Linked DNA regions of Homo sapiens: regions 2, 3, 4, 5, 6 and 7 are each linked to region 1. Evidence: promoter capture Hi-C in 16 types of primary human blood cells and fetal thymus (Javierre and others, 2016). All regions are on one chromosome and are shown on one strand. Each heading gives the region's core, a stretch centred on a gene start or on the middle of the fragment in contact. The rest is flanking DNA. Distances are from core to core; before and after follow the strand shown.

What was found. Contacts are between HindIII fragments. The CHiCAGO score rates a contact against its expected background, and 5 or more counts as called.
Region 2: a fragment that was not itself captured here is called in contact with the fragment with the promoter of CA14 in region 1 in 1 of 17 cell types (M2 macrophages); the score reaches 5.5 in M2 macrophages.
Region 3: a contact is called between a fragment that was not itself captured here and the fragment with the promoter of CA14 in region 1, in 1 of 17 cell types (M2 macrophages). The highest score is 5.0, in M2 macrophages.
Region 4: a contact is called between a fragment that was not itself captured here and the fragment with the promoter of CA14 in region 1, in 1 of 17 cell types (M2 macrophages). The highest score is 5.6, in M2 macrophages.
Region 5: a contact is called between the fragment with the promoter of H2AC20 here and the fragment with the promoter of CA14 in region 1, in 1 of 17 cell types (neutrophils). The highest score is 5.5, in neutrophils.
Region 6: a contact is called between the fragment with the promoter of SV2A here and the fragment with the promoter of CA14 in region 1, in 7 of 17 cell types (neutrophils, monocytes, naive B cells and 4 more). The highest score is 12.0, in neutrophils.
Region 7: a contact is called between the fragment with the promoter of MTMR11 here and the fragment with the promoter of CA14 in region 1, in 1 of 17 cell types (neutrophils). The highest score is 6.2, in neutrophils.

Annotation. Positions count from the first base shown.
Region 1 is chr1:150,256,182-150,259,387 of GRCh38, forward strand. CA14 (carbonic anhydrase 14) reads left to right here and starts at 1,593. Exons shown (of 11, transcript NM_012113.3): 1 at 1,593-2,002. The coding sequence starts at 1,948. RefSeq lists an enhancer at 1-477. The HindIII fragment of the contact is 8,593 bases long and covers 1-3,206 here.
Region 2 is chr1:150,708,017-150,711,222 of GRCh38, forward strand. HORMAD1 (HORMA domain containing 1) reads right to left here. Exons shown (of 15, transcript NM_032132.5): 8 at 878-945; 9 at 240-391. Among named protein-coding and RNA genes, the nearest start is that of HORMAD1, 11 kb to the right of the region's middle. The HindIII fragment of the contact is 3,217 bases long and covers 78-3,206 here.
Region 3 is chr1:150,684,339-150,687,544 of GRCh38, forward strand. The region is part of intron 2 of GOLPH3L (golgi phosphoprotein 3 like); the gene reads right to left. Among named protein-coding and RNA genes, the nearest start is that of GOLPH3L, 11 kb to the right of the region's middle. The HindIII fragment of the contact is 3,143 bases long and covers 153-3,206 here.
Region 4 is chr1:150,646,807-150,650,012 of GRCh38, forward strand. It overlaps GOLPH3L (golgi phosphoprotein 3 like), which reads right to left. Exons shown (of 5, transcript NM_018178.6): 5 at 1-1,942. The coding sequence ends at 1,515. Among named protein-coding and RNA genes, the nearest start is that of ENSA, 19 kb to the left of the region's middle. RefSeq lists an enhancer at 59-560. The HindIII fragment of the contact is 2,900 bases long and covers 124-3,023 here.
Region 5 is chr1:149,885,457-149,888,662 of GRCh38, forward strand. It overlaps H2AC20 (H2A clustered histone 20), which reads left to right and starts at 1,462. Exons shown (of 1, transcript NM_003517.3): 1 at 1,462-1,955. The coding sequence starts at 1,519. The coding sequence ends at 1,908. H2BC21 (H2B clustered histone 21) reads right to left here and starts at 1,226. Exons shown (of 1, transcript NM_003528.3): 1 at 1-1,226. The coding sequence starts at 1,184. The coding sequence ends at 804. H2AC21 (H2A clustered histone 21) reads right to left here and starts at 2,509. Exons shown (of 1, transcript NM_175065.3): 1 at 2,013-2,509. The coding sequence starts at 2,460. The coding sequence ends at 2,068. RefSeq lists enhancers at 1-422, 200-279, 690-779, 850-1,139, 1,460-1,529 and 5 more. The HindIII fragment of the contact is 4,135 bases long and covers 1,429-3,206 here.
Region 6 is chr1:149,916,144-149,919,349 of GRCh38, forward strand. It overlaps SV2A (synaptic vesicle glycoprotein 2A), which reads right to left and starts at 1,701. Exons shown (of 13, transcript NM_014849.5): 1 at 1,596-1,701. RefSeq lists a silencer at 1,545-1,614. The HindIII fragment of the contact is 16,072 bases long and covers 1-3,206 here.
Region 7 is chr1:149,935,336-149,938,541 of GRCh38, forward strand. MTMR11 (myotubularin related protein 11) reads right to left here and starts at 1,544. Exons shown (of 17, transcript NM_001145862.2): 1 at 1,247-1,544; 2 at 819-894; 3 at 249-370; 4 at 1-24. The coding sequence starts at 1,312. OTUD7B (OTU deubiquitinase 7B) reads right to left here. Exons shown (of 12, transcript NM_020205.4): 12 at 2,477-3,206. RefSeq lists an enhancer at 810-1,334. The HindIII fragment of the contact is 11,640 bases long and covers 503-3,206 here.

The DNA of each region.
Region 1 (3,206 bases), core at 343-2,842:
TCCTACTAAATCTCTTCTTTCATACCAAGATGTCTCTGCTTTCTTTTTTTGTTTCTTTGTGTTAAGTACCCTGATTCCCGGGAAATCTAATTTATACTTCAAGTCTTTTACTCTTCTTAGATGGGATGGATGGGGCTTTGGGGAACCTCAAAACATAAAACTTTCCTGAAGGGGACAAATAACTCAGAGGGTGATAGGAGAAGAAAAAGGGAAATGACATCAGCAAAATGGCTTGGCTTTGCAGATCAATCACAGGGGATAGAAAGGCACAGTGAGCTCCTGTCTCTGCAGGAGCTGATGATCCAGCACATGCATTATTCTGTTCATTTGGCTTTTATCCTGCTCCCTTATTTAGCTTCTGCTCCCTTTGTTTGGCTATTTATTGCTACTCGGCAGGAGCAAGGAGGGCAGAGGGAGCTTCAGATGGGTGCATCCTCCTGGCTGGTGCCTCTGGTGAAGAGCATGGAGGAGAAAGAGGTTTCAATGTCTGGCTTGAAAGTATCTGTGGGTTTCACATTCTCTAACGAGGGATTTAGGATGTACATTCCAATCGGGATTTCCAGTCCCGTGGGGAGCAAACATCAGTTCACATTCCTGAGACGTGCAGCCTCCATGCTCCACGGACGCAGCTCCTTGGTGGCAGGTTTCATTCAGTGCCACATGTCCTGCCTCAGCCCTTTGTTGGGCTGGAAGGAAGACCCTGAGCCCCTCTTCCATCTGGATCACATGGTCTCTCCAGACCCTCCCCTCTCTTTCTCTGGAAACCACCTTTTTCTGATGGTGGTAGTGATTGTTCCTAAAGTCTCTCCTTTCCTCCTGCCCTGGCCTCTCTGCCGGAGGTCAGTGTCCTCTTCAGTGACAAAAGCCGCCCTAGATCTGGGCTCCCTGGAGAGGGAGGTGGCTGGGTCTGGCAGTTACAGCCGCTGTCTCTCCATGGTGCTGCTACACCCCTCCCCCACTGGGCATACAAATGGGCTTTATCCAGCAAACAACGCTCCCTCCCCGCACTCCCCCCACCCCAGGCCACACAGGCACGTGGACCCAGGCCTCACCGTGGGAAGGGGGTGGTGGCAGGCACAGAAGAGATTGCTCCAGATGAGTTCTCCTTGCCTCACTTCTCTTCCTTAGAACTTAGGACACAACTCAGGTTTTAGTTATTGACTTCCTCCACCCCTCCCCTGCACCCTGAGTCCCTAATTCCTTCTTGTTATATATCTCCTAATTCTGGACTCTTCCCATTCCAGGGCAGCTCAGATTATGCAGGGAATTGGGAACAGGTACCCCCACCATCTGCCGCATACCACCCAGGGAGCTGCTCCTCAGAGGAGAAATCAGGCGGGGGGATGAAAATACAGTGTCCTTTTGAGGGGGCTGAGTTGAACCCCAAAGCCCCTTCCTTGACCCTGCCTGCTCCAGGGAACACCCATCTAAACAGCATCTGTGTGACTAGCAGAGGAAGGAAGAGCTCACCCCAGCTGGGCTCCTGAGCCAGGGCCAGGGCTCCAGTGAAACTTGCCGCGCTCCAGCTCCGAGTGGGGCCATCCTGCATGCCTAATTGGCTATTTAAGGAGCTGTTCACCAGCAGCCCAGGCAGCACCCCCGTCCCCACATACACCAGTTCAGAGCCACCTTAAAAGCAGGAGGCAGTTGTAAAGTCGCTGGCCAGCTAGTGGAGTGGAGACTGCAGAGGGAGATAAAGAGAGAGGGCAAAGAGGCAGCAAGAGATTTGTCCTGGGGATCCAGAAACCCATGATACCCTACTGAACACCGAATCCCCTGGAAGCCCACAGAGACAGAGACAGCAAGAGAAGCAGAGATAAATACACTCACGCCAGGAGCTCGCTCGCTCTCTCTCTCTCTCTCTCACTCCTCCCTCCCTCTCTCTCTGCCTGTCCTAGTCCTCTAGTCCTCAAATTCCCAGTCCCCTGCACCCCTTCCTGGGACACTATGTTGTTCTCCGCCCTCCTGCTGGAGGTGATTTGGATCCTGGCTGCAGATGGGGGTAGGTACAACTAAATGTCTGTGTGTGGATTTGTGCTGATGTTCACATGTCGCCAGGTGTGCTTAATGGGGGGAGGAGAGGTGTGAAAGGAAGCCTAGAGGCTGGAATAATAGGCTCAGAGATGAGGAAAAAAGAGTGGGGTGTGGAGGAGACCACTTCCCTTCTTTACCTTTTGTCTCTCCAGCCTTGTTGTTATTGGAGGTCGGGGAGAACTAGCGGCAGGCAGGCAGAGTGTGTACACATGCAAGTGCTGGAATCTCTTTGCAGGCTACAGATTTTCTCCAGAGCTCTTTCCCCCACTGCCCTGGTCCCAGGCAGGACTCCTGGACTTCTTTATTTACAAACTCCTCCAAATAGGGAGTCAAAGAGGCCTGGAGTAAAAAGATGGATAGATGGGGGTAGGGGGAAGAATACTTCCTGCCCAACTCAGACCCTGATCTCCAATTCATCCCCTTTTGGCCAAGATTCCCTCTTCATTCTGTGGAGCGACTAACTCCCCAGTTATCCTCTGAAAGTGGCAGTAAGAGTCAACATTTGTTTGACATTTTACAGTTTACAAAGGACTTTCAGGAGCTCCCAGGAGATGAGGAGGGATTCTTGGGAGAACAGGCTGAAGCGCTCCAGGAGTGTCCCCAGGAACTCCTAGACCTCATTTTTGTGTTTCCTGTGCCTAGCACAGTGTCCAGCACATACTAGGTGTGTAACTGAGGTTTGTGGAAAGAGCAGGGTGAGGTGGGTGTCCAGAGAGCAGAAGGCAAATGCAGAGAGGATGGGGGCAGGCAGGCAGCCAAATGGAGAGTCACAAATCTCATCTGAGGAGAAAGAAAAAAAGAGGGAAAGAGGAGGAAGAGACAGAATAAGTGTGTTGAGGCTCTGACCAGAGTGGACAGGCACCTTTACAGACCAGGGAGTTTGAGTTGTTGGGGGGTCCCACAGATATGGTAAAATGAGAGGCTGCCTCCAGCTCTCCCTTGGGCTAGCAGAATAGGTCAAGGATAAGAGCAGGACATCTCACAAGTTTGAGGAATTTAAGGGAATAAGAGACAGAGAGAGGAAGGAATTTAGGATTTTTCTCCAGAGTTTCTAGTAGTATGAATATTGCAGCATAAACCATGAAGGCCTTCGTTTTCTTCTTGAGGCAGTTTGGCCGTAGGGAGGGGCTGGACCTGCAGACCCTCAGCCTTTGCGTCAGACAGGACTGCAC
Region 2 (3,206 bases), core at 436-2,935, 450 kb after region 1:
TTAACTCATTGTTAAATTTGAGTGAGGTTATACTTCACATGGATATGTTCCTATCACTAGAGAAGCATCTATTTTAAAGCTTAATTTTGTAAATCTTTCTTTCTTGAATAGTGATATTAAGTGTAAATTTTATAATTTCAAAAAATTTAGGTGCTAAAAATATTTGGAATGGAAACCAATTGTTTCAATAATGATAAAACATATGTACCAACTGAAACAGGATGTATTGCAAATAGTACCTTCATCATAGTAAAAAAGTTTCATGGTCAAACAAACATCATTAGGTAAAGGCCCCAGATTTTGCATTAGGATATAAATCTTGCGAATGAGGAGAATGCTTGCTTTCTTGGTGTCAGTAGACAACATGCTAGATTCGTTGCTTTGGTTTTTACTAGAAGAGAATCACATATTAATTTATTTTATAAAACCTGTGGCTTCTAATATCATAACTTTACATTTTAACTATTTGAGATTCTTATTTCTATTATAGCATTAAGCTGTTAACTTGAAAGTTACCATGTGTTTTAATGTCACTATTATAAAATTTTAATATTAATATCTGCTAGAAATAATAACTTAATTTTACTTAAGTGCATTTTATATGAAGTGTTTAAAGAAAGCACATTATGTTTTAAAATTATATTTCTATATTTCTAATCACCTAAGTTCTCTTTCCACAATTAAAATTGCTTATTATTAGCCACAGAATCCTGGCTTGAAGCTACTGCAAGCCACCACTCCATTTTGCATAGCCACATCTTGATGGTTAATTGGGGATGTCCCCGCAGTTTCAGAATGAATCCTGAGGTTTAGCTATATAGCATTAATATGAATAAGTGGTAATCTGTAATACAAACAGAAAACTATAGAACAATACCTTATGAAGTCCATGAGTGGTCCATTATTGGTGTATTTGAATTTGAATTGGTAACATTCTGAAATTGTCTTAAATAGAAAATATCGCAGTTATGCTTCTGATATTCAGTACTAGCTGCTAAATAGCTATATTCTGTTTTGTATGACTCAACATTTAGTCAATACTTTTTTCTGCCATATTAATCCCTATTGATCCATTGAAACTTTTGATTCCTCATAGTCAGTTTTCATGGTTTGGGTTTGGGGCTTCAGTCTTGGAGAGACATTTATTTCCCAACTCATTGTAATGTATGTTATTGTAGGGAAAAGAGAGATCAGACTGTTACTGTGTCTATGTAGAAAGGGAAGACATAAGAGACTCCATTTTGAAAAAGACTTGTACTTTAAATAATTGCTTTGCTGAGATGTTGTTAATTTGTAGCTTTGCCCCAGCCACTTTGACCCAACCACTTTGATCCAATCTGGAGCTCACAGAAACATATGTTGTATGAAATCAAGGTTTAAGGGATCTAGGGCTGTGCAGGACGTGCCTTGTTAACAAAATGTTTACAAGCAGTATACTTAGTAAAAGTCATCGCCATTCTCTAGTCTCAATAAACCAGGGGCACAATGCATTGCGGAAAGCCGCAGGGACCTCTGCCCTTGAAAGCGGGGTATTGTCCAAGGTTTCTCCCCATGTGATAGTCTGAAATATGGCCTTGTGGGATGAGAAAGACCTGACCGTCCCCCAGCCCGACACCCATAAAAGGTCTGTGCTGAGGTGGATTAGTAAAAGAGGAAAGCCTCTTGCAGTTGAGATAGAGGAAGGCCACTGTCTCCTGCCTGCCCCTGGGAACTGAATGTCTCGGTATAAAACCCGATTGTACATTTGTTCAATTCTGAGATAGGACAAAAACCGCCCTATGGTGGGAGGCGAGACATGTTTGCAGCAATGCTGCCTTGTTATTCTTTACTCCACTGAGATGTTTGGGTGGTGAGAAACAAATCTGGCTTACGTGTACGTCCAGTCATAGTACCTTCCCTTGAACTTAATTATGACATAGATTCTATTGCTCACATGTTTGTTGCTGACCTTCTCCTTATTATCACCCTGCCCTCCTACTACATTCCTTTTTACTAAAATAATGAAGATAATAATCAATAAAAACTGAGGGAACTCAGAGACCGGCGCCGGTGCAGGTCCTTGGTATGCTGAGCGCCGGTCCCCTGGGCCTACTATTGTTTCTCTATACTTTGTCTCTGTGTCTTATTTCTTTTCTCAGTCTCTCGTCCCACCCGACTAGAAATACCCACAGGTGTGGAGGGGCAGGCCACCCCTTCAGTTATTTATACCACATGGAAGGAACTCCTTAGCAGGCAGATAAGGGAGGCAACATACCTCAGCAGAGTGGCTAACACAGGGCATAAATCTTTGCTATACTGTAACCACAGGCAAGCCACTTAAGCCTTAGTTTAAGTATTAGTTTCCCCAGCTAAAAAAGAGATTAAAGACAGTACATATCTCATTGATAGTTGTGAATAAATATTCACAAATGGGATAATTTATACAGGGTACTTTATAAAGTACCTGACATATAGTAAACATTCAATAAATATTATTATTGTATCAACAAGGTTGCTAATTTACTGATAGAAAAAATGCACAACTATATAACATATGAAAATAAATGAACATTTTCTGAACAATCAATTAGTTTTCTGAACACAATCTATTAATTCACAGCCTTTACCCAAATGATCTGCTTTGTCAGCATGGATACATATTAAGCATTAATCGCAGGTGTGAGTATCAAAGAAAAGACACATTCTCAGCCCTCCTGAAGCCTGAATACTTCTATTGCTTTCTTTATATTTCATTGCTTACATAGTGATGTTTTTAAACGTCTATTTTTAACACCAGTTTAAATCTACCTCTCCTTGACTGAATGAAACGTTATATTGTAACAGCTATAGCGTAATGGGTAAACACCCAAATTGTGAACTGGCCTTCCTAGGTTCAAAAACCTGGTTCTGCCACTTCAGCCACTATGACCTTAGGCAAGAAACCCCTTGTACTTAGATTTCCTCATCTGTAAAGCGGAGATGCTAATAGTGGTTACCTCATGAAGGTTGGGATGAATAAATGAGATAATGCACATAAAGCCCCAAAGAACAGAGCCTAATATAAAGTAAGCACTCAGTAGATCTTTCCCCCTTGTTTCTTATCTTCTGGTTTTCCCTTTCACGTTCTCCCTTCTCTCCTTTAATGGTAAGATAAATAGGTAGCTATGAATGGATTGGGATGAATATTCGAAGTTTAAGGATGACTTTCTTACTTTCCTAAAACTCAA
Region 3 (3,206 bases), core at 474-2,973, 430 kb after region 1:
GCTTTTTTAATGTTTTATTTATTTTTAGAGACAGGGTCTCACTATGTTGCCTAGGCTCGTTTCAAACTCCTGGGCTCAAGCAATCCTCCTGCCTCAGCCTCCCAAAGTGCTGAGATTAAAGGTGTGAGACATGATGCCCAGCCTTGGTTTTAAGCTTTAAGATGCAAGAAAAAATAACTATTTGCTTACTCATATTTATCTCTTTTTAGTATAATAGTGTCTCCCTCCTTCCATAAGGAACATGTGTGACATGGGTTCTAATCTATAGCTGAAGAGTGAACTGACAAGAAAAATAATGACTATTTGTACACTAGACCTTCTGATGTGATTATTTTAATTTTTTTTTTGGAGAGAGTTTCACTCTTGCTGCCCAGACTGTAGTGCAATGGTGCGATCTCAGCTCACTGCAAACTCCGCCTCCTGGGTTTAAGCAATTCTCCTGCCTCAGCCTCCCAAGTAGCTGGGATTACGGGCATGCACTACCACGCCCAGCTAATTTTTGTATTATTAGTAGAGATGGGGTTTCACCATGTTGGCCAGGCTGGTCTCAAATTCCTGACCTCAGGTGATCCACCCGCCTCGGCCTCCCAAAGTGCTGGGATTACAGGTGTGAGCCACCATGCCCAGCGATAATATGATAATTATAATTAAATATTATTTACTTATTCGTTAAACATATCTTCCTTTTGCCAGTTGGGTTATTCAAACTTCTTACTTGGACTTGTTGCCCTTTATGACTAGAATATCTTGTTTCAAAAAGGAGAAGAGAAAAATAATGTATAGAATTTTCCTATTTCCTCCTTAATATTTGAGGCAATGGAATGGAAAATTTGAAGTAAAAATAAAACTAATAAAATCATTCAGAATTCCTTACAGTAGTATTTTCCCTTTTTCTGACATTATTGATGCCTAGTTAATGTTTTTTATAGGATCCCAAAATCTTTTTCCAGGAGTGAGCTTTGCTGGGGTATTAAACATTTGAACAAGAAAGATATGGATAAGACCTGAAAAATAACTCATATGCCAAATATTATTGTGAAACATAATAATCTTTTATCTTAATAGGAGGCATAAATTAAAATCCATATGAATCTGGCCAGATGCAGTGGCTTATGCCTGTAATCCCAGCACTTTGGGAGGCTGAAGCAGGTGGATCACTTGAGGTCAGGAGTTTGAGACTAGCCTGGCCAATATGGTGAAACCCTGTCTCTACTAAAAATAAAAAATTAGCCAGGCGTGGTGGCATGCACCTTATAGTCCCAGCTACTCAGGAGGCTGAGGCAAGAGAATTGCTTGAACCCACGAGGTGGAGGTTGCAGTGGGTTGAGATCGCACCGCTGCACTCTAGCCTGGGCAACAGAATGAGAGTCCATCTCAAAAAATAAAAATAAAAATATAAAAAATAAAATCCATAAGAATCTATTCAAGGAGGTGAAATTATTTGGGTCACACTAAACAGTTAACGATCCTGAACAATTCTCTTTATTTCAGGAAGAAATACAGAGAAACATGTGAAACTTGCTTTGTAAGTATGTCTTTTTTTTTTTTTTTTTTGAGACAGAGTCTTGCTCTGTTGCCCAGGCTAGAGTGCAGTGGCGCAACCTTGGCTCACTGCAACTTCTGCCTCCCTGGTTCAAGCAATTCTCCTGCCTCAGCCTCCCGAGTAGCTGAGATTACAGGTGCGTGCCACCACACCCGGCTAATTTTTGTATTTTTAGTAAAGATGGGGTTTTACCATATTGGCCAGGCTGGTCTTGAATTCCTAACCTCATGATCTGCCTGCCTTGGCCTCCCAAAGTGCTAGGATTACAGGCGTGAGCTACCGCACCCAGCCAGCATGTCCTTTTTAAACTGCAAAGTCAGATATTTGTTTTTGTTTTGTTTTTCCTGTTTTGAGACAGAGTCGTGCTCTGTGGCCCAGGCTGGAGCACAGTGGTGTGATCATAGCTCAATGCAGCTTCGAACTCCTGGGCTCAAGTGATCCTCTCACCTCAACCTCCTGAGTAGCTGGGACTATAGGTTCACGCAGGGCTGTTTTCATTTTTTTGTAGAGATTGGGTCTCATTTTGTTGCCCTGGCTTGTCTTGAACTCCTGGCCTGAAGTAATCCTCCCATTTTGGCCTCCCAAACTGCTGGGAATACAGGCAGTGAAACACCACGCCCAGTTGCAGAGTCAGTTTGAATGTAAATTCCACAATTTATTGCCCAAATGATCATTTAACTTTGACTCCTATAAAGAGAATGATACCTGCCTTGCAGGATTAAACAATAGAAACTGCAAAATGTTTTGAAAATAAATTATACAAACAAAATATGGAGGCAAAAGTGATGAAATGGCTGACAGCAAGTTTATAGGCACAGTGGTTACAGCCAAAATCCCAAATTCAAGTGGGCAGCTTTGTCTCAATATCAATACTAGATATTTTATATTTTGGGAGAGTACTGTGTGCATTTGGGGATTGGAAGAATTAGGGAGAAGATCTTAATGAAATAGCTTAAGCTATATTTTCCTACTATTAAAACAGGTCTTTGGTCTTCCAGTTTATTTCCTTTTATACCAATAGTAAATAGTTATTTGGGGTTAATATGCCTGGATATAATAAAAAACAAAAGTTAATTTTTTTAACAGCTTATGTTTAAAGAAAAAAACCTGACAAACAAGCCCTTCTGATACAGTTGCCCTATTCACAATCGCAGTAGCTACTGGGAGACTTATTGTTCATTTTGCGCGATTAGGAAACTAAAAGGAAAGACCAGGTAGTAACTTAAATTAGACTTTTAATTTTTTTTTTTAAGACAAGGTCTTGTTCTTTGCTCGGCCTGCTATTAATATTTTAATTATAATAAAATGCTTTAGGATTGAGTCACTTTTTAAGGCGGCCAATTTTCTTCATTCATAGCCAATAATCAACAAGTTGGACACTGACTGACTGTGACTGATTTTAAAAACCTTTTTGGGCTGGGCGTGGTGGCTCACATCTGTAATCCCAGCACTTTGGGAGGTCGAGGCAGGCGGATCACCTGAGGTCAGGAGTTCGACACCAGCCTGGCTAACGTGGTAAAACCCCGTTTCTACTAAAAATACAAAAAATTAGCCGGGCGTGGTGGTGCATGCCTGTAATCCCAGCTACTTGGGAGGCTGACACAGGAGAATTGAACGCGGGAGGCAGAGGTTGCGGTGAGCCAAGATCGTGCCACTACACTCT
Region 4 (3,206 bases), core at 324-2,823, 390 kb after region 1:
ATAATAAATGCTGAACATCAGCACAGCTCAGTGCACATCCTCTTTATATCCTCAAATACTGGACTTTATATCAGCATGCTTTCAATACCAAATTAGCCCTTTAAATAGGATCTTTCTTAATAAAGCTTCTCATTGCCCTCACTACTGAAGTAAAAAACGTGTTAGAGATTTGGCCAGAAAGATGGTTTTACTGAAATAAGACTGATGACTAGGAGCACATCTATGGATTAAATATAGACAAAACTACTCCCAGAAACCTTAAATATAGACAGACTTTATTAATTTATGTAGGAAGCCAAAAATAGGAAATAAAAAGATCTGGAGTTCAGATATACTGATATATTCAGCAACTGAAACTTACAATTCCTTCAATTCAGTCAGAGCAGAGACATTTAAAGTAGTCTGGAGGGGTGGGTGCAGTGGCTCAAGCCAGTAATCTCAGCACTTTGGGAGGCTGAGGTGGAAGAATTGCTTGAGCCCAGGAATTCAAGACCAGCCTGGGCAACAAAGCGAGACTCTTGTCTAAAACAAACAAAAAAAAGCTGAGTATGGTGGCACGTGCCTGTAGTCCCACTTAGTTGGGAGACTGAGGCAGGAGGATCCTTGAGCCCTGGAGGTCAAGGCTGCAGTCAGCTGTGATTGCACTACTGTACTCCTGCCTGGGCAAGAGCAAGACCCTGTCTCAAAAGAAAAAAAAAAAAAAAGTGGCCTGGGGGAAACAGGACAGTCATATACCCCAAGAATGGAAATTTTCATGCCACCCCCCTTCCTTCCTTACAAATTCTAATGCTGATTGCATGAACGAGGTGTTGAGAGAGACTTTTCTTCATTTAGACATTTGCCCTAGTGAATGAGGGAGCAAGAGAATGCTAAGAGGGATGAGAGAATATATTTCTGGCTCTAGGACTTTGACATCCAGGTAATTGAATCTGGGACATTCTCATTAGGTTAGAAAAGGAAAGATGAGAAAATCACTAGCAGGATATGCAATTCCAGAGACCATCTGCTCCAAAAATTAGTTTTGTTTCTCATTGCTCCTTATTCAGCGACAGTTATTTCAATAAGCTACATTATTTAGCAGAGTCTGAGAGACAAAGGCTGTGAAAACATGTATTTATGATAGAAAACAAACTCAGAAAAATATAATAGATAGTTCACTTTTTATCTCATTCACATTCTATAGCTGGAGAACTCAAAATCCCATTTAGATATTTCTGCTTATCCAAAAGCACACTGGGTGAAACTAAACCACCAAATGGGAGAAAATGTTCATTGGGTGTGTGTGGCTTCACCCAGTTTATTTACCTATGGAGTGGAAGTGTAGGGAGAAATAAGGTCTGCTTATAATGGTCAAGGTCTATGGAGAAGCCCTGAAGTTGCTCTCCCCAAATCACAAGTCTGATTCAAGAAAAGGAAACAAAAATGATGAAAACATCTCATCACACAAAACTCAGTGATGGGGTCTCTGACAGTCACCAGCCAGCAGGGGAAAAGGAGAAATCCACCTGCCGGCTTTAAGATTTATTGAAGGCTGCCAGCACAGCCCAGATCATTTCTGTGGCACTAGGCTTTGTCCCTTCCACTTCAGGGTCCAGTTCTACTAAGTCCTTGGCTCGATTCATTGCCACATCATACTTGTCATCTGTCAGAGAGGAGAAGACATTCTCTAGCACATCAGAGGAGTGGGCTAGCACCAGGAGTGCTAGTGTTCGCTTGTCCATACGCTGAGGGTCATTTACCCACCGCTCTAGTACACTATCTTGAAGTTTTTTCACTAGTCGCTGTTTCTCTGTTGTATTGGTCACTGGATGAGTAGTCATGTCAAATAGCAGGAAATTCTGCTTCTCAGTGGTTAGAATACCTTTCTCTACTAGGTTCTTTGCGATGCGCTCTCGTACATTTCTCAGCTGGTACTGTAATTTGAAGGGGTTCCAGGTCTCACCTATGAGAAAAAAGAAATAGGACATAATGAACTGAAAGAGAAAAGCAAAATGAAACATGTAGTTGTTTGGAAACTTGAATGGCTAAAATGTTTAAAAGCATAATCTTCATTCCTCAATTCATTTAATCCTTAGTCCTTTATAATCTGGCTTTGACTCCAACCACATTTCACATTAAACCAGCTTCAAAAAATGTCACCAAGGACTTCCATATTGCTAGAGCTTATAGACTTTATTTCTGTTCTTATGTGACCTCTGTGACACTGTAATTATTTATGTATTTTTCAAATTCTATTTAGGACACCAGTCTCTCCCAGATGATTTCTACTCTATATTGTGGAAGTTCTATTTGCTGGTGAAGCTAAGAGGACTGAGGTTCCCTACCCTATTTGTAGAGCAGAAGCTCTATCCCAGGCCTGGTAGGCTGACAATATTTAGACTTCAATTGCTCCCATTCCAGCTTGTTCGTAGATTAGAGATTCTGCAACAGAAAAGGCAAGTCAAGAAGACCAGGGGCTAACACCTCTTTCCCCCAGCACCTACTCATACAGCAGGTGGGTATCACTGTAGGAGAAGTGGGCCCTTGTGCAGAAGTTCTGCCCAGGAGGGAAGGAAGGCCTGAAGAATGAAGAGCTCCAAAGCTCTGCCTGAGAGGACTGACTTTATTTGGAACACAGTGTGGAGAATTCTATGCCTAAGGGTGTTGAAAACCATAGAGATCTTGGTGGAGAGCAATTACAAGGTGCTGCTAGCTCTATGGCACTGGTATGACAAACCCAAATGGCAAAGCCTCCAGAAGTTTAACAGGCAGAACCAGAGAAACAGAAAGCCAAGAAAAGTCCTTCTGGAATCATGACCAACACTGGGGGTTGGGAAGACTGTGTGCTTGCACCAGGCTGCACCCACTCAGGAGCAATCAGAGCAGGACGTGGGGCTTGACTTGAGAGTATTCCCCAGACCACACATAGATCTATCAAAAAAGGGTGGATGCTTCACTGGCACCAAGGGCTAAAGCACAACCACTGAACCAACACTGGCTGAACAATAAGCTACCCTAACTCAGAGGCAACTCCTAGAAAGCTAAGCTTAAAAATAATAATAATAGCCGGGTGTGGTGGTACACGCCTGTAGTCCCAGCTACTTGGAGGCTTAGGCAGGAAAACCCAGGAGGCGGAGGTTTCAGTCAGCTGAGATTGTACCACTGCACTCCAGCCTGAGTGACAGAGTGAGACTTCATCTCAAGAAATGAAAAATAAAAAATAAAAA
Region 5 (3,206 bases), core at 212-2,711, 370 kb before region 1:
TGAGAGGTGACTTTTGAGCCCGTATCTACATGGTAAGTGCCTCGCAGTGACCTGGGGCCGTAGCGTTACCATTTAAAGCACAGACCATTAAATGCAGAAATTATCAACAAAATGAGAAATAGGAATTTCAAAGTCTCAAAGTGAACGACGGAAACTGAAATCTACAAATTAGAAAAAGGCGCAGAATTTTGAATATTCTTGTCGCCCAATCAGGACAAGGCTGGGACCCGGCTGCGCGGCCTTCGTCCAAAATACACAGAACGGCTGGTATCCACAGGAGGCCCCATCGCACGGCAGAACTGGTGACCGGACACAAAAGCTGCTGCCAAGCGTCAGTCATACAGAGCTGTCACGCAGTGTTTGCGGAACCCGGGCTGAATTGTGTCCTGGAGTTCTCTTAAATGACAGCCGAACTCAGCCACTTCGTTTTAGAATGAAACAGACCCAAGGAGCCACCAGGGCGCGTGTGGGGCGGGAGTGGGGGCGGGTAAAGAGGCGGATTCCCAACAGCCTAATTGAGAACCGACTCCTGGGAAGGCTAAGCAGCACAATGAGTAAAGACACGCTCTAGATTCAAAAGCAAATCCAATGACGCACTGGGGACCTCGAGTTCCAAATAGTTAAAAAGCTACGTATGCCATTTCCCATGACCTTCACACTAAAATAACTTACTTTATGAAAAGAAACTAAGGGAATAAGTGAACAAGCTCTTTTCTAGTGATTAGGTGGGTGGCTCTGAAAAGAGCCTTTGGAGTCAAGCAGCCGGCGACTCGAGCGAGCGAGCGCCAGGTCCCGGCAGGGACTCACTTGGAGCTGGTGTACTTGGTGACCGCCTTGGTGCCCTCGGACACGGCGTGCTTGGCCAGCTCGCCGGGCAGCAGCAGGCGCACGGCCGTCTGGATCTCGCGGGATGTGATGGTGGAGCGCTTGTTGTAGTGCGCCAGGCGGGAAGCCTCTCCCGCGATGCGCTCGAAGATGTCGTTGACGAAGGAGTTCATGATGCCCATGGCCTTGGACGAGATGCCGGTGTCGGGGTGGACCTGCTTCAGCACCTTGTACACGTAGATGGAGTAGCTCTCTTTGCGGCTGCGCTTGCGCTTCTTGCCGTCTTTCTTCTGGGCTTTGGTGACGGCTTTCTTGGAGCCCTTTTTAGGGGCCGGAGCGGATTTTGCCGGTTCAGGCATGGTAAGACACAGTACAAACGCGGCTTAGCCAAGAAAAGAAGTAAGAGAATGGGCGGGCCTGATTCTTTTATAACCACCTTATGCAAATTAGGGCTCCGAAAGTCGTTCATTTCCATTGGTCCGTGTGCGGACCTTGCGTTTTCAGCAATGCGTACGTAACAACACCGACTCTTGACTTGATTGGCCGGTTCTGAAGCCATATTAGGACCAATGAAAAACTCGTTCTTGACCCCACCCCTAGGAAAGCTTATAAAGGCTTTCCTCTTGGTTCTCTTTCAATCTTATTTTGTTGCGAGGTTCTGAGCGTTGTCTGTGTTTAACCTTGATTTCAGTCATGTCTGGTCGTGGCAAACAAGGAGGCAAGGCCCGCGCCAAGGCCAAGTCGCGCTCGTCCCGCGCTGGCCTCCAGTTCCCGGTAGGGCGAGTGCACCGCTTGCTGCGCAAAGGCAACTACGCGGAGCGGGTGGGGGCCGGCGCGCCCGTCTACATGGCGGCGGTCCTCGAGTACCTGACCGCCGAGATCCTGGAGCTGGCGGGCAACGCGGCTCGGGACAACAAGAAGACGCGCATCATCCCTCGTCACCTCCAGCTGGCCATCCGCAACGACGAGGAACTGAACAAGCTGCTGGGCAAAGTCACCATCGCCCAGGGCGGCGTTTTGCCTAACATCCAGGCCGTTCTGTTACCAAAGAAAACCGAAAGCCACAAAGCCAAAAGCAAATAAATGCAGACAAACAAACCAAGACCAAAGGCTCTTTTTAGAGCCACCCAAGTTTTCAAAAAAAGAGCTAATGCGCTATTTCGTGATCAGCCCTTCATTTGACACTTTGGTGGCTCTTAAAAGAGCCTTTGGGGTGAATGAGTATGGTGTCAAGCCTCTTAATTACTTGTTCTTGCCAGGCTTGTGACTCTCCGTTTTCTTGGGCAACAGGACAGCCTGGATATTGGGCAAGACGCCGCCCTGGGCAATGGTGACACCCCCGAGTAACTTGTTGAGCTCTTCGTCATTCCTCACGGCTAGTTGCAGATGGCGAGGGATGATGCGCGTCTTCTTGTTGTCCCGAGCCGCGTTGCCCGCCAGCTCCAGAATTTCCGCGGTCAGGTACTCGAGGACCGCCGCCAGGTACACCGGGGCGCCTGCCCCGACCCGCTCCGCGTAGTTGCCTTTGCGCAGCAAGCGGTGCACTCGCCCCACCGGGAACTGGAGACCAGCGCGGGACGAGCGCGACTTGGCCTTAGCGCGGGCCTTGCCTCCCTGCTTTCCGCGTCCTGACATTACGGCTAAAATTGCAGTTACAGCTTCTTTTACAAGGAGAAGAATGTGGAAAGAATAACCAATTTGATGTAATTTATAAGAGCTACCGGGAGGGGTGAAGGGAAGTCGTTTGATTGGCTAAAAGCGGAGCCGTATCTAACAGCCAATAGAAAAGCAGAAAGCCGCCTCTTGGTTTGCGTCCTGCACTGAAAGGAAATGACGGATTTTGTAAGTATCTACCAATCGCTGAGAGCCACATTAAAGCCCCTTATTTGCATGCCAGGATCTTTAAAGAGAGCAGGCTTTCAAACAAAATACTGGTTTTGTTTTACTGAGAGGCACTGTGGGTTTTTGTTTTGTTTTGCTTTGCTTTGTTTAGTTTACAGCCGGGAAATCCCAATATGGACCCTAAGGAACTGCAGAAGACATCCTTAGACGGAGAGTTACTCTCACGAAAGAGTAGGGGATTCTGAAGCCGATGATCCCCTTGAGCTCTAAACTGCCAAGTCCCGCCCTTTCTGTCTCGTCACAGCCAAATTCCCTTTAAAAATACATGTACTACTAAGGCTGCCTCCTTTCTCGCCCCTAAACTTAAGTCGCCCGCAGCGGCGTGTCTCCGCCCCACCCCCACCCGCCTGCACTCCTCGGAATCCGGTTTGACCGAGGCTAGAATAGATTTGTCATCCTCCTCTTGACCTCCAGGAGGCGGCCTTCAAACTTGCTCCCTTGGCTTTCAAAATGTCGCCCTGTTTTTCTTCTTACCTCGC
Region 6 (3,206 bases), core at 451-2,950, 340 kb before region 1:
TCCTCTCTTTCCTAACCAGGATCTCCCCTCCAGCCCTGAAGGAGGCAGGACCCACCAGGAGCCATACTCTATGTTTGTTGACCCTATTTCCCCCTGAGAGGGGCACGTAGGGCAGGGAAGCCTTCCACAACCACAGCAGGATATGAGGTCTCAACAGCCAGCTTCCTCAGGGCCAGCAAGCCCAGGAGGTCAGGAGAGAAAGAAAGAAGACAAATTCTTTGAGCTGGTGAGGAAGTGGTGCTATTTTTAGCCCCCAAAACAGCACAGGGTGGCTAAGCCTGGGGGAGTGAGACAAGACTTGGAGAGGTGGAGGTTAAAGGAGACAAGGTTCAGGGTTACAAGGTCCTAGGCTGGCTGACTTCACCTGACAGGAAAAAATGTGCCCAGGAGATTTTCTGCAGAGGGTGGAGACAGGCAGGGGACTCCAGAGCAAATGCTTTCTTTCAGAACAGCTCATCCAGCCCTGGGTCCAGAACCCCCCACCCTCCCAGTCAAAGCCCCTGACTTTGGGGTCCACCCAGATCCCCAGGCCTTCCTAGCTCAGGTGACAAGGTCATTAAAAAGCAATCACTTATCAAAACGTCCGCGGGGGCGGGGGTAGAATGTGGGAGGTGCGGGAGCACCCCTTCCCCATGACAGCCCGGTCATCGAACTTCAGCCCCCACCCAGGACCATCAAGACTGCGCCTCCCCTCCCCACATCCTACCAAGGTTAGGAAGATAGGAGCACCCACAGTTCTGAGGGATAAAAATGAGGGTGTCAGCTGAGAATGCACACTGAGGAATACGGAGAGGCAGAGAGGGGGACGCAGGGAGAGACCTCCGCATGCACAGACATAGAGACCGCCCCTATCAGCATTTGCAGCGACCCCCCCACACCCCATCTTGCCTCAGCTCCGGAATAAGGGAAAAGCCCCCAGAACTGACTAAATCCCTGCTCTGAGCACCTCCTCCACCCTTGGTCCTGCTGCTAGACAAGTGTCCACCTTCACTCAACATCCCTTCCCCCCACCCCGGAGCAACTGCCGCCAGCCCCCGCCATCCATGCCCCCAACACCTGGCGGCTCTACATCTCTGTCTCCCCAGTATTTCCATTCTTCACTCCCCTTCCCTCCATCCTTCACCTGCCCTTCTTCCCCTGCCCCCCACCCACCCAAGTCCAGGCGTGCACACTGAGGCAGCATCCATTCTCCAGCCCCAGCCAAGGTCATTTATCATTCATCCTGGGGGTGGGGGGACGTCAAGGTGAGGAGGGGATAGGAGTTTGAGGGAACCTCATCCCACCTCACAACCCCACCACCACGTTAATCTCCGAAGGGGATAGTGGGGACTTGGTTAAGGTAGAGAAAAACACCCCTCCTCCCCATTCACCAATATTATACATATGCGTGTGTGTGTGTGTGTCCTGAAGAGCACAACTGAAATAAATGTCCATCCCCAAACCACCACCAACCCACCAACCCCCCTCACCCCTAGAGAGGGGATCGTCACCCTCCCCATAAGCAAAGCATCGGAGGATAAAATGGCTGCAAGGCAAGGCAAAGATGCTTCTGCCAGGGGCGGGGAGGAGGTGAGCGACTGAGAAAGGGGTCTCACCTGGTCTAGGTTCCCCGGGTAAGGAGTCCCGGGCGAGGACGGGGGTCCCGGCCGCGGGCGGAGGCGGCAGCGGCGACTGCTCCCGGCACCAGGGAAGCGGCAATGCAGACCTGCCACCCCCCTTCCACCACTCCAGCCCCGCCTCCGCCCCCCCCTACCCCGCGCCACTGAGCATCGGGAGAGACCATTGGTGGGGAGAGGAGAAAAGAGGATGGGGAGGGAGTCAGGGCACGGGGAGAAATGATGAAAGGGCCGGAGGTTGTCACAAGAACAGCTGGAAATGGCACCCAGCCCTTCCCAGGCCCTTCCTAGTAAAAGATAGAAGGAACTAAAGAAAAAAACAGTGATGTTAGGAAGACAAGTGGGAAGACAGGGAGATGGGGAATGTGGCAGCCCCTTCCTTAGCACCCCAGTCTCAGTATGGCAGGACCCAATAATTTCAGGGGCTTTTGCTGCCTTCAAAACACCTCCCTTGCCTTCTCCACTGCTCTCAAACTCCTTTTTCACAACAGTCTCCCAAATCCAGAGTGCTCCTATTCCAAGTTTACCTGGACATTTTAGAGAAAGCAGAGATAACAAGGTGTGGTTTCTATCCTGAACTGCCAGAGTCAGAGACCCCTGGATTCCTTCCATCTCTTTCCTCACAAAACAGTCCAGGTTACTTATTTACAGTGGACACCTCCTCATCCTGTCCATTCAGTTGGTGGTAGCAGAAGTACTGGGGAAGTTGAGGGATTTTTACAGACCTGACCAACCGGACAGTTCCCCTTCCATTAATTTGCTCCAATGACTCAAAAAGGATCCTCTCAATACCCTTCTCCATTTTCTCTTACTCTCCTCTACCTCCCTCCCCTCCCCTCCACACACTTGTACTTCCCGGGCAGGAAGAAGTAAATTGTTTCAGCTTTTCCCTTCATCTTTCCTTTGCTCTTGCATCAATAACCTGGACTCAGAGATCCAAGACATGCCACTTGGTGACACTTGATGACCATCCCTGCCGAAGGAGTGAGAGGGAATATGGTGATTTGGGGAAATACATCCTGAATGTGTCTATGCCAGATAAGGTCAGGACCTTCCAGACAGCACTGACCTGGGCTTGGACCTGGGTTCTCACTGCTAACAAGCTGTCAACTCTTGGTCAAGTTCTCCACATCTGTGAACTTCAGGTTTCTCATCTGGAAAAGGGGGGCTTGGACTAGATACTGCATCAGGTCCCTCTCAGATCTAATAGCGTGTGATTCTGCCTTACTAAATGTGGAGGCTTCAGAATGCTGATATATATACATGGAGAAGGCTGACAGGCTATGTCCGAAGAGACCACACAGGTAACATTTGCCAGGTTGAATTTACCTCTGACAGGGACACGGGCCTGGGCTTTGCAGACTCCAAAGCTGGATCTTGGAAATAATCATTCATGCCAACAAAGTTCACAATCTTCTGAAATATAAAGCCATAATACATAAATATTAATTTATCATAAATATTTAACTGTCACTCAGACTGAAAACTCATATCTACATGTCTAGTACATTCTCTCCCTGAAGCCAAATCAGAATCATAATGTCAATGTATAAATGCACAATGACATTACTGGAGGATTTGTATCTTTAA
Region 7 (3,206 bases), core at 294-2,793, 320 kb before region 1:
GTATTCACTGTTCAAGGGAGTGTCCTAGACGAAACACGTGACTGGGTAGACATCTGAAATCGCCCTCATTTTCCTACCCTGGCAGCCCCAACCCCTTCTAGGGGGCAACAACCCTAGAGAGAGTTCCCACTGATTATCAATGATACATTCAAAAGACAGCCCTTAACCCATAATGTTTGTCTAAATCCTGCTAGACTCCCCTACCCATTTCCCACTAGCTGTCATTTCTGTGGCCCCAACCATCTCACCTGATTCCACTGCCATCCACAGGGCTGGAAGGTGACCCTAAAGTTGGTACAGATCAGGGTTCCAGACAATTCTGGTTCCAGGCCCTTCCTCACCCCTGGGGCCCATGCTAGGATCTGCTCCCCTAAAGGGGAAGAAGGGAAGCCCTGTTATGACTGTTCCCAGTGTTGCCCACACTTGGATACACCCACCCCTCCAAGAAAGGGAGATCTAAATAGGGAAGATTAAAATCCTCCCCAAAGCCCACTACAATGTAAGCTTATGAGGAAAGATAAATGTTTTTTAATTTCTGTAACTAGAACAGAGCCTAGAACAAGGCCTGGCACATAGCAGGCACTAACTATGTATCGAATAAGTAAATTTGAAAAGGGGTAACAGGGTCAAGGAAACAGAAGGAATGTCAAGGTCCAGCTCTCAGCCAGCTCTAGAGGCTGTCAGGGAGGACAGCGAGCCTCAGGCAGACGTACTTCGAGCCACGAGAGGAACACAGGGGTATCTTTGGTGAGGGCATGAAACAAGATTGGCGTAGGATGAAATTTGGAAGTCTTTGGAGAGTGATAGGGCATTATTACCTGGGAGGCATCTGGAGGCCAGGCAACTGCTAGGCTGACGACTCCTGGGCTCCGGCATCCTATTTTCCTGGACAGACTTTGGTCCAGAGGGTTGAGGGGGGTCTAGAGTTAACCCCTAGGCTCCCCAACTCCCCAGAGGCAGCTGCCTGTAGAGGCCTACACTCACACTCTCGGGGGAAACTGAGATCAGTGTCTGTGGGGAGCTCCAGACCTAACAGGGCTGGTAAACAGTAAAGGGAGGGGCTGGTTAATGGATAATGAGACAACGAACTTGAGACTGAGAAAGACGGACCAGGCTCCATCAGCAGAAGCTGATAGACAGACACACCCTCCTCCTCCTCCTCTAGAGCCTTTGCTTCCCCCTTTTATCTCCACCTCATCCCCGTTCTCACCCTCTTGCCGACACCCCCCAAATTCCTTCTCCTTACCCCCATCTCTGGCTCCTCCTTCTGGGGGGCAATGTTGAAACTCTGGCCCCGGCCCCCCCACCACATTTCTCTGGCTCCATCCGGGGACACAGCAGTTAAGGGTGGGAAACCTCAAGGATGCTCACCCACCTCGGGGAGAGGCTGAGTCTTGTTGAGAAGAGGGGTGTTAGGGAGAGGGGTAGGGGGTTGGACACAAGGGAAAGGAGCATTTGACGTGCACGGAGCAGAGTTTGGGGGTCCTTGGAAAGGTGTGTCCAGCCCAGCCTGAGAAGTCTCCTCGGAAACTTCAGTCGACTCTGGAGAGGGCGGGAGAGATGCCCAACCCCTTAAAGGAGAATACACACAATTCTGGAAAAGTGGAGAGGAAACGGTGGAGTCTGAGACGGACGGGTGGGGAAGAAATGGGGACTGAGAGAAAAACGACTCCCTTCTTTACCCCAATCCCAGACCCTGTTCTCTTCCTGTTCATGAGTACTGGAGACCGTTTGAGGGGAGCAGTTCTATTGATTATGAAGCTGGAATCATCTGGGCTACCTGTCTGGAGTGTCTCAGTGATGACTTCCCTTAAAAGCTCCGTTCTTTTGTCTTCTCAAAGGGGTTTGGGGCGGGGAGAGGGGTAGGAATGTGAAAGTGGTTCAAGCCTCCTTGCCGCCTCTTCCAGAAGAAAATGAAAATTAGACCTGGGGGGATTTTTGTCAGCAGAGGCCCAAGAATTAGGTGAGGAAGCAGGGAAACTGGTTAAAGTGGTTTTGCATATCTTTCTCTAGAGGGCATGACACAGACATCATGTGAAGACTGCAGTGGAGAAGTATAAAAAGAGATGGAAATGTGTCCAAGATGCAGACACAAGTACAGTTTGTGTGCAAGTCTTGGGGATGTGGGTGGGACAAAAAGATCTTACCAGTTAATCTTGCCCATCACGTAGATACACAACCAATAGGCAATAAGTGCCCATTCCCGTATGTGACTCCACCCCTCCAACCCAGACACCAGATCTCCAAATGAATGATTCATGTTCAGGACTTTCACAGGTGAGGGCTGGAAACCTCTCTTCAGCTCAGCAGTCCATCCCCCGTCCCTCCCATCTGCAACCCTAGAAGCAAAGATGGGTAAGGAAAGCTGGGAACAAGGAGAGAAGGAGCTGCAGCTCCTTTAAAGGAGGGGGACTTGGGGACAGCAAAGCAAAAATCTTTATTTAGACATGAAAAAGACAGAAAATAAAATACAAAATAAGAGTTAATGAGCTGCTGTTTTATTGCTTTTGAATCTACAGAGGCAGCAATCCTTAGATGGGGGCCCCAGTTTTCCAAAGTGACACTCAATTTTCCCCTCCCCCCAGTACACCACCCTTCTGGCCTCAGCTTTCAGTTTCCTGTCTTGGCTGCAACTGTGGAAATAGTGAAGATATTGTGAGACAGAAAGTCAGTCTGGAACAAAGAGGTATACACCTGCTAAGAAGGTGGCCCAGAAGCCTGATTCTAGAAGTCCTAAAGGCTACAGAGCACCACCACCCCACCTGCCCCTAATGCATTCCATGGGCCTCAACCTCTTGGGGGAAGAAAATATTTCCCAAGGTCTGTTGTAAAAAGAAAATAGGGACCAGGCGCAGTGGCTCACGCCTGTAATCCCAAGCATTTTGGAAGGCCAAGGCAGGCAGATTACTTGAGGTCAGGAGTTCAGGACCACCTGGCCAACATGATGAAGCCCCATCTCTACTGAAAATACAAAAATTAGCCAGGCGTGGTGGCTCACACCTATAATCCCAGCTACTTGGGAGGCTGAGGCAGGAGAATCGCTTGAACCCAGGAAGCAGAGGTTGCAGTGAGCCAAGATCTAATGACTACGCTCCAGCCTGGGCAACAGAGCAAGACTCCATCGCAAAAAAAAAAAAAAAAAAAAAGACATAGGAAGAGGTGTGTACCATAACTTTTAAATCCCATTATCCACTTTCCTTCTCACC